3 separate regions of the Homo sapiens genome follow, and all the other regions are linked to region 1. The links are contacts of gene promoters, found by promoter capture Hi-C in human tissues and cell types (Jung and others, 2019). All regions are on one chromosome and are shown on one strand. The core of a region is centred on a gene start or on the middle of the fragment in contact, and the rest is flanking DNA. Distances in the headings are between cores, read along the strand shown. Region 1 holds the start of CDC14B (cell division cycle 14B). Region 2 overlaps ZNF367 (zinc finger protein 367). Region 3 overlaps ZNF782 (zinc finger protein 782).

Region 1 (2,919 bases), core at 134-2,633:
GTCTCCTCCTCCTCCTCCAGGTCAAAACAAAGGACTGTGACCCTACCGTTTCTGCTCTCTAAAACTTACTTGCGCAGCGCCGCACAGCCTCCCACGTCTCTAGCTTCTTTGCTGCCCCTACAGACAGACATGTAGATCATTTTAAATTTAAGGCCTTCACTGATTTCCTTAGGGGAAACAGAGGAAGAGTGAACAGGAGAACCAACCTTAAGAAAAAGTGCTTACAGAGTTGCTGATCTCTAGCTTCAGACACAGCCCCCCTACTTCCTTATTTAGCCGTGCTTAAGGTAAAAGCCCACAACAATAGAAGTCAAAGAGCCCCTTCCTGAGGTGCTCTATGAAAATTTGCATTTCTGAGAGGCTTCCAAGGGGACTGACTCAAATTCATCTTTCTTTTCCCCAGGCTGGCAGTTAACTGCGGAACTGCAGGATAAAACGTTCAAGTGCTGGTGAAAAATAGGGACAGCTTGCAGATGTTGTAAAATTTGGGGCCGTGAAATCTTAACACTGCCCTCCAATCTTCTCACCCTTTTAGATGCTACCATGGACGTTTGTTTAAAGGCCCTCCAAAATGACAGTTTTTGGTTAAGTTCCAGGAAGATAGGGCATTATTTTAATCCAGTAGAAAAAGAAGAGGATATGACCCTACAGTGTGCCAGATAAAGAAGTTTAAGGACAAAACTTGCCCCTTGCTTCAATACTTCATGATATAATCGGACCTGTCGACACCTCAGTATACACAGCAATGAGTGTATAAACTTACTGAATTAATGTGGGCGCTGGATTCCGAGATGAGAAACTCTGAGGTGCAAACAACCACGGTATATTGTGGTTCCACGGAAGTTTCATCGGGTCCTTAAGAAGCCCTTGCTTGGCCTGTTTGAATGCTGGGCATAGGTCGATAAATAGAGCGTAGTTGTTTAAATAGTTTTACTTAAGTTCTGAAATCAACTCTACTTTAAATCTATATAGCTGCAGGTAATGTAATCAGGCCATCCTCTTCCAAGCTGGCAGCCATGGCAAAAGTCCCTTTCTCTTGGCGCGAATTACAAGGAAATTCAAGAAATACTTTAAGATATATATATGCCAAAGACCTGGAGTTAAGTTACTAGGGTGGGGCTGTGTAAATGTTTGGTGACTCACTAAAGAAAGTTGGGATCTGGGGTGCTGGCACCTGGAGGACACAGAAGAAACAAAAGTTGGGGGGCTGGCGAAGGTCGCTAGCACACTTTATCTCTGATTGGCGGAAGCCCTCAGAGTTTTCTTTATGGCGTCACCGAGTACCTGCCTGTAGAAAGGCCCCGTCTCCGTGACGTCACGCCGCATTGGCCAATGAAAGGCCTCAGTCTGCGGGCCCCGAGGAGGGTTGTGGGCCCTTTTTTGTGAATGAAGCGCCACGGAACAGCCCTCCTGGGGTCCCCACGAGCCGCGTCCTGCTGTGCCCCGGCGCCTACGCAGCAGCGGCCGCGGCCGCGGTGGGCACGCACGGTTACCCCGGGCAGCTCCGGCCGCCAGCTGCAGCCCCGTCGCCTCGGCCGCGCCAGCCGGCTGCGGGCACCTGGGGGCGGGCTGGGGGCGCCGGCCGCGGCAGGAGGCGCTGTAGCGAGGGCTGCGGCGCCGGTCCTGCGGCGGCCGCGGGAGGCAGCGGGGCAGGCGCTGTGGGCCGGGCTCCTCCTCCGGCTCCTGCGCGACCGCCTCCCGCCGGGCTCTGCCGGCGCCCGCCGTCCCCGCAGCGCCGCTCTGCGCCCGCCGCCCCGAGCGCCCGCGCGGGGCTGGCGGGAGCCTCGGCGGGCGCGCGGGCGCGCGGGGCCATGGTCGTGGCCCCCTGACGGGCCGCGGCCGCCTCCATGAAGCGGAAAAGCGAGCGGCGGTCGAGCTGGGCCGCCGCGCCCCCCTGCTCGCGGCGCTGCTCGTCGACCTCGCCGGGTGTGAAGAAGATCCGCAGCTCCACGCAGCAAGACCCGCGCCGCCGGGACCCCCAGGACGACGTGTACCTGGACATCACCGGTGAGCCGGCCAGTGGGCGCGCGGAGGGCCCCGGACGGCCGCACCCGGCGCGGGGCCCTGGCCCACCTCCCACCGGGCTGCCCGGGGCCTCCGGGGCCGGGCCGAAATGCCTTCGCCCCCACCCCCTTAAACGCCCCGGCCGCCACACCCCCTTTAGGAGCCTGGCTCCTGAGGAGCGCCCCCCGCCCCGAGTTTCTAGCTGCGTGGGCTGCGAGCTTTAACTTTAGCTTGTGCACCCTCCTCCACCAGCAAGATGGACCGAGGGTCACCTTTCTAAGTTGCGGGCGTCAGCCCGGCGCCTCGAACCTGCAGCTCCTCCCCGCGGGCTGCTTCTGAGTTCCTGTGGATTCCGCCTTCAGGGATTGCGAGCCCGGTTGGCCCTCGCGCGAGTCACAACCTCTGAATCAGCCCCTGAGGATTCCCCGAGCGCGCTGAACGCGCCTGGCACGGGAGCTGCCCCTTTTTGGCGTTGGCCAAACCCCCGCTGCTCCGTAGCCTTGGGACCCTGGGCGCCGCGTTGCCCGTCCGGCGCGTAAGCCCGAGCCCCTCTCCTGGGCCTCCCGCGCCCTGCCCCCTAGCGCGCCCCCCGAACGCCTCCGCCTCCCGGGGTCCGCTCCCCGCCGGGGCCTCGAGAAGGAAGGTGTCACGTTGGTGGCATTCGAGCCAGCCGGCAAGACGAATGTCCGGGTTGTCACTTTTGAGAAATCCCAGCCAGCCAGAGCAGGTAGCCAAGCAGCCCTTCGATAGCTGTTCTGTTAGTGCTGATTCGACTGTTCTTGGAGACTCATAAATCCAATTTGGCAGCTGTTAGGTTTGCTGGGATTGACAGTGACGCGTGTGAAGGCATTAAATGTGATGATGTATGTGGCAACGCTGTGTAAACAGCAGAGCTGTCCACGATTTTGAGGGAAT
Region 2 (2,979 bases), core at 186-2,685, 210 kb after region 1:
TTTTTTGAGACAGAGTTTCACTCTGTCGCCCAGGCTGGAGTGCAGTGGTGCGATCTCGGCCACTGCAACCTCCGCCTCCCAGGTCCACGCCATTCTGCCTCAGCCTCCCGAGTAGCTGGGACTACAGGCGCCCGCCACTGCGCCCAGCTAATTTTTTGCATTTTTAGTAGAGACAGGGTTTCACCATGGTCTCAATCTCCTGACCTCGTGATCCACCCACCTCGACCTCCCAAAGTGCTGGGATTACAGGCGTGAGCCACCGCGCCTGGCCTGTGGTTTTTAATTGTCCTGATTTCATGTTCTGTTTCTTTCTTAACAGAATCAGCTCCTATTTTTATTGATCACAGATGCTATATTCTTTTATATTTATTTTGTACTTATTAAAACAATTATTCATGATATGACCATAACCAGCAATAATCCATGAAATTATTGTGGCTTAATAAATGATGGCAATGAAGATTTCACTCCTGTGTAGCTCCTTCTGTCTGACTCTGTGTTAATAATTTTAGCAAGCAAGACTTGAGCTATATGTGGCTACTGAGGATCACAGCCAAGGAGTAAAGAAGATGAAAGAATTTGATGACCACCAATCATGGCCAGAAGTTGATTTGTTAATTTGTACTTTAATAAGTCATGGTCCATTAGGATCTTGCTAATTCCTGTTTCATTATGCATGGGAATTTCTTGAGTAATTAAGTAAGGTTGATGAGCTTTTTGTTTCATCAACAGATATTCGTTACTAACCCACTGAGTCAGTTAGCTCAGGCTAAAAAGCAGGCTGCAGAATGCAACTTCAAGATGGCAATCTCAGCCTCAACATGGCTCATGTTATGTGTCCTGGGAGGGTTGACCACTGGTGTGCTCCACATTCTGTTCATTCTAGGATCCTGAAGGAATCTCTCCAAGCTGGGACAGATGGGTCTCAAAGCAGAGAGAAAACAGAGATGGTAGAACCGTATGTTGTATTAGTCCATTTTGCATTGCTATAAAAGAATACCTGAAGGTGGGTGATTTATGAGGAAAATAGGTTTATTTGGGTTGTAGTTCTGCAGGCTGTACCAGAGGCATGGCACCAGAATCTGCTTCTGGTGAGGGACCTCAGGGAGCTTCGAATCAAGGCAGAAGGCGAAGGGGAGCAGGTTTCACATGGTGAGAGAGGGAACAAGAGGGAGGGGAGGAAGTGACAGGCTTTTTTTAACAGTCAGATCTCATGGTAACAATATGAGCGAGCACAGCGTCTAGATGTTCATGAGGGATCTGTCTTTATGACCCAGACACGTTCCACTAGGCTCCGCCTCCAATACTGGGGATCAAATTTCAACATGAGATTTGGAGGGGACAAACATCCAAACTACACAGGCTATTTTCACTCACATTTTATTGGCCAAAGCAAGTCATATGGCTAAGTTGCACTCTGGACCCACAGTGAAAGGGGCAGTGAATGTTTTTGCAATAATATCTGCCACAGTGCCTTCTGACATTTTAAAAATTGTGGCAAAAACCCGATAATATTTTCTACCTTAACCATTTTTAAGTATACAGTACAGTAGTGTTGACTATATGTAAACGGTTGTGCAACAAGTCCCTAGAATTTATTCATCTTGTAAAACAAACTCTATACTCACTGAACTTGCCTTTCCCCCGCCCCTCTCTAGTCCCTGGCCACCACCACTCTTCTAAGAGTTTGATGACCTCAGATACCTCATATAGGTAAAATTATGCAGTATTTGCCTTTTTGTCACTGGTTTGTTTTACTTAGCATAATTTCCTAAAGGTTCATCCATGTTATGGCATATGGCAGGATTTCCATCTTTCTGAAGGCTGAGTAGTTTTCCATTGTTACTAACACACTGAGTTTGCTTAGGCTAAACTGTATATAGCACTATTTATCCATTCATCAGTCAGTGGACATTTGGGTTGCTATCGATTGTGAATAATGCTGCAATGAACACAGATGTGCAAATATGTCTTTGAGATTCTGTTTTCATTTCTTTTGTATATGTAGCCTTCCCACATTGTTTTTTAAAAAATATTTATTATTTATTTATTTATTATACTTTAAGTTCTAGGGTACATGTGCACAACGTGCAGGTTTGTTCCATATGTATACATGTGCCATGTTGGTGTGCTGCACCCATTAACTCGTCATTTACATTAGGTATATCTCCTAATGCTATCCCTCCCCGCTCCCGCCACCCCGCGACAGGCCCGGTGTGTGATGTTCCCCTTCCTGTGTCCAACGTTTATTTATTTATTTATTTATTTATTTATTTATTTATTTTGTGTTCCATTAAAACTTTATTTACAGAAACAGGCTATTTGCCAATATTTTAATCTATTAAAAATTACTCACGTTGGCCGGGCGCGGTGGCTCATGCCTGTAATTCCAGCACTTTGGGAGGCTAAGGCGGGCGGATCAGAGAGATCGAGACCATCCTGGCTAACACGGTGAAACCCCGTCTCATTGGCCTGATGAATCTTTCATATTTAGGTGGTTTTCTTGTAAAGCCATCTCCAACAAAGCACACGTTAGTAACTATCCTCTTCCATGCCTTCTTTCCTGTTCGAATAACTTTTAATACTTCTGCTTCTCCCTGGGCACGTACTTTAGGCAGAGGGACTTCCCATTTTCCCGCCTTCTCTTTTCGTTTCTGTTTAATCATATTGGAAAGTACTTTAGCTCGAGATTGTCCCTCTCTGTCCAGCAGATAGGCAGGTACTGCTCCCTGTGGAGTCTTTTCATCATTCTTTTGTTTGGTGTTTTTCTTTTCATGCATCTTTGATAGTCTTTTTTTCATTTATATTTTCTCAGCATGGCGCTGTTTATGTTAAAGCTTAGCCTTCAGACCAATCATTTTCTTTGCCTTCTTTGAACGTTCATGAGCCTCTCGACTTTCCTTCTTTCTCTTTTTCTCATGGTAATCCAAACGGTATCCATAGCGTTTACGGTGTAATTCAATATATTCGTTCTGTGGC
Region 3 (3,181 bases), core at 197-2,696, 230 kb before region 1:
CAGCACTTAGCAGAATGTCATGTCCCCAAATACTCAGGGAGTGGATGTAGATGGAATCTTACCATGTGTCAAATGTAGTCTGGATTTCTGGTGTGTCTTCAGATCTCTTGGGTCAGACAGGTTCCTGGCCCCTTCTGCATTGTCAGGGTGTCTCTCTTTTAAGTCTGATGTAAAGAATTCTAAGAGTCAGATTTTTGCCACTAACATGGTTTCTCAGGTCAGGTCGCAGGCTCCTTGAACAGAGCAGCCCTTGCGAGGTGGGAAGCAGGGGTCTCTGTGAACAGTTTTACCTGGAAGAGAACACCTCTCAGACCTAGGCCTCCCTCCCGAGCTTCAGAGCAGAGGCAGAAGAGCCCACAGAGGAGCAGATCCTAGATGTGTATGGTCAGAAGCAGTTCTTGATCCTCCTTCCCAGAATGAGCCAGACTTGGTGAAGCCTCCAGAAGCCACCACACAATGGGTGACAGTGGGTGGTTTGGGCCAGCTTTGAGAAGAGCAAAATGGGCTAGGTGGTGGCCAGGGACAGGCTGCTCAGGAAAGGCCACATCATTGCATAGGTCTGAGGGTAGGGGTAACCGGAGATTCTGTCCCCAGATCCCAAAGTAGCCCCCAGTCGCTTTGTTCTCCACTCTTTACAGATGCCATACTGCTGTTAACATATGTGACACTGGAGACTTTGTCCCTACCTCATAGAATCCCATGCATGATGATACATGAAGGGTTTTCCGTGGCTATCTACTTCTGATTCTTTTGAAAGCTTTAAAGACATTGGGCATGAAAGGTTCAGTGAGTTTCCGGGGATCCCTCGTTTGTGGTAGAGCCAGGAGGAAAACAGTTCCGTTCATTCTTTCACAGGTGAGTCACCAAAAGCATCTTATCCAAAGGGCCTTTTGAGAAATACATCCCAGTTAAAACATCTAAAACTCTTTGCCTTAAAGTATCTCATCTCTTTTATAAGACTTTCTGTGGATTGTCTATACCAAGGGTAAATAATATTACTAAGAAAAATAGTTAAATGATGCACACTGAATATTTTTCTGCTAAGTTAATTTTGTGTTTTGGAGACAGAGTCTCATCCTGTTGTCCAGGCAGGAGTGCAGTGGCACAAACATGGCTCACTGCAGCCTCTACCTCCTGGGCTCAAGTGATCCTCCTGCCTCAGCCTCCCAAGTAGCAGGGACCACAGGCGCATGCCACCACACCTGGCTAATTTTTTAAGTTTTTATTTTCTGTAGAGACAAGGTCATGCCATGTTGCCCAGGTTGGTCTTGAACTCCTGAGCTCAAGCTGTCCTCCCTCTTTGGCCTCCCGAAGTGCTGGGGTTACAGGCTTGAACCACAGTACCTGCTAGGTTAATTTTAATGAAAGAATAGTGTCTTACCCTGTGGTGTACTTTAATTCAACTAATCCTGTATTGTCTTTATTTTTGTGTGTGTGTTAGAAGCACATGTGCATTGTTAAATCAATTGGGAAAAGTTTATGTTCACTCAATAAAAAACAGCAGTTTAAGCCCCATAATTATTTCAGAGTTGTCGTAGACAGTGCCACCTCTACGTGGTGCTTCTCATGCCTTTTCAAGGCCTGAAGGGCCCTGTTACCTTAGGAAGGCTGCTCTCCAACTGGGTTGCTGAGATTTGGGGAGGCTAATCTAGGAGCTGTGAGGTAGGCGAGACCGTGTGACATCCTCTTTCTGTCCCCCCAGCTGAGGCTTTACAGTTCTCTATACTCTCCCAAGAGCCACAGAAAATGAACACATTTCAGGTAAGCTTTTTATTCATTCCCCACTTTGTATTGTAATGGATTTTATGAGGTTTAGATAGGCCCTTGCATTAAATGGAAAAGGAGAAATAGATAAGTAAATCTTGAGGGAAAATATATACAGTTTCACCATGAACTCTGCTGTCAGCTTTGTCAGGGTTAGTAGGTTCCCTCCAGTTACCAGTTTGCCAAGATGTCATGTTAGTCATGAATGCACATGAATTATATTAAATACTTTTTATGTATCAGAATAAATCTATAGCTGTGTCCTTGAATCTGTAAATATTGTGAATAATATAATGGATTTTCTAAAAGTAACTTGAATTCCTGTATAGACCCTAGTTGCTAATGAGTGTAGTAAGTTGCTTCTTACATGTTTTCCTAGCACTTTATGGTAATAATTTAGGATTTTTATTTCTGTGTTCACAAATTGGATTAAACTATACTTTCCTGTTTCCCTGTTCAGTTAGGGTATCATGGTTGTCTCATGAAAGGAAATGGGGCACTTTTTCTTGTTTCTTCTTTTCTAATAATTTAGAAAAATGAGAACATTGTGTTATATGTAGATTTTATGAAACTCACCTATGAATTTGGACCTTGCGAAGACTTTTTGTGTGAAGATTTTGATTATTGAATAAATGTATTAGTTCATTAGTCAGCTTCTTATAAGCTTATACTGGAGTTGTACTTTTTCAATATAATTTTTGTCATTACATTTTCATAGAAAATTGTAATCATTTACTTTTTTTATTTTTTTTTAGATTTAGTAAATGTTTATTGTTGGTTAACCATTATCAAACAAGATTTTTCTTTGTCAGTATGCATTAAGTTATAGATGTACAGAGAGACAAGGTATAAACCAAGAGAAAAATAAAATGAGATACTAAGATATTTTATTTTAAAAACCACCTTGCATACACAAATTATAAAAATTTATAATTTTCACACCGCTTTACCATCCTTGTGCTAATATACTTTAACACTGAAGATGCAACTTGCCTACTTACTTAGCACTTTACTTAGATATATTTATTAAGATGCAAAAGTTTTCATAATATTGTATGTTTACTAAAACTGGAAAGATTTTTCAATTTTAATACAAAACGTATTTGAAATTTTCAACTAAGATTCTGAACATTTTACTTTTACATTTTATTTTATGTATTTTACTACCCAGGGTCTAAAAGAAGTCAAGACAGGCCTTAACTAAAATGAAAGAGCAAGACTAAAATAATCATAATAAATGCTGTCTTTTCTTTATACTTTAAAACATTTCTTTAAAATGTTTTATTTCAATAGCTTTTGGGGTACAAGTGGTTTCTTGTTACATGGATGAATTATATAGTGGTGAATTCTGAGATTTTAGTTCACCCGTGGTCTGACAAGTAGTGTACATTGTGCCTTATAGGTAGTTTTTTATCCC

The links. Contacts are between HindIII fragments. The study calls those that stand out against the background at their distance.
Region 2: a fragment that was not itself captured here is called in contact with the fragment with the promoter of CDC14B in region 1 in 1 of the 25 tissues and cell types used here (aorta).
Region 3: a fragment that was not itself captured here is called in contact with the fragment with the promoter of CDC14B in region 1 in 1 of the 25 tissues and cell types used here (hippocampus).

The regions. Positions count from the first base shown.
Region 1 is chr9:96,618,307-96,621,225 of GRCh38, reverse strand. It overlaps CDC14B (cell division cycle 14B), which reads left to right and starts at 1,383. Exons shown (of 14, transcript NM_033331.4): 1 at 1,383-2,007. The coding sequence starts at 1,848. RefSeq lists an enhancer at 1,732-2,232. The HindIII fragment of the contact is 32,033 bases long and covers 1-2,919 here.
Region 2 is chr9:96,407,286-96,410,264 of GRCh38, reverse strand. All of the region lies in intron 1 of ZNF367 (zinc finger protein 367), which reads left to right. It also overlaps the pseudogene NSA2P7. Among named protein-coding and RNA genes, the nearest start is that of ZNF367, 9.6 kb to the left of the region's middle. The HindIII fragment of the contact is 3,941 bases long and covers 1-2,979 here.
Region 3 is chr9:96,850,527-96,853,707 of GRCh38, reverse strand. It overlaps ZNF782 (zinc finger protein 782), which reads left to right. Exons shown (of 6, transcript NM_001001662.3): 2 at 639-855; 3 at 1,703-1,761. The coding sequence starts at 1,747. Among named protein-coding and RNA genes, the nearest start is that of ZNF782, 2.4 kb to the left of the region's middle. The HindIII fragment of the contact is 3,556 bases long and covers 1-3,181 here.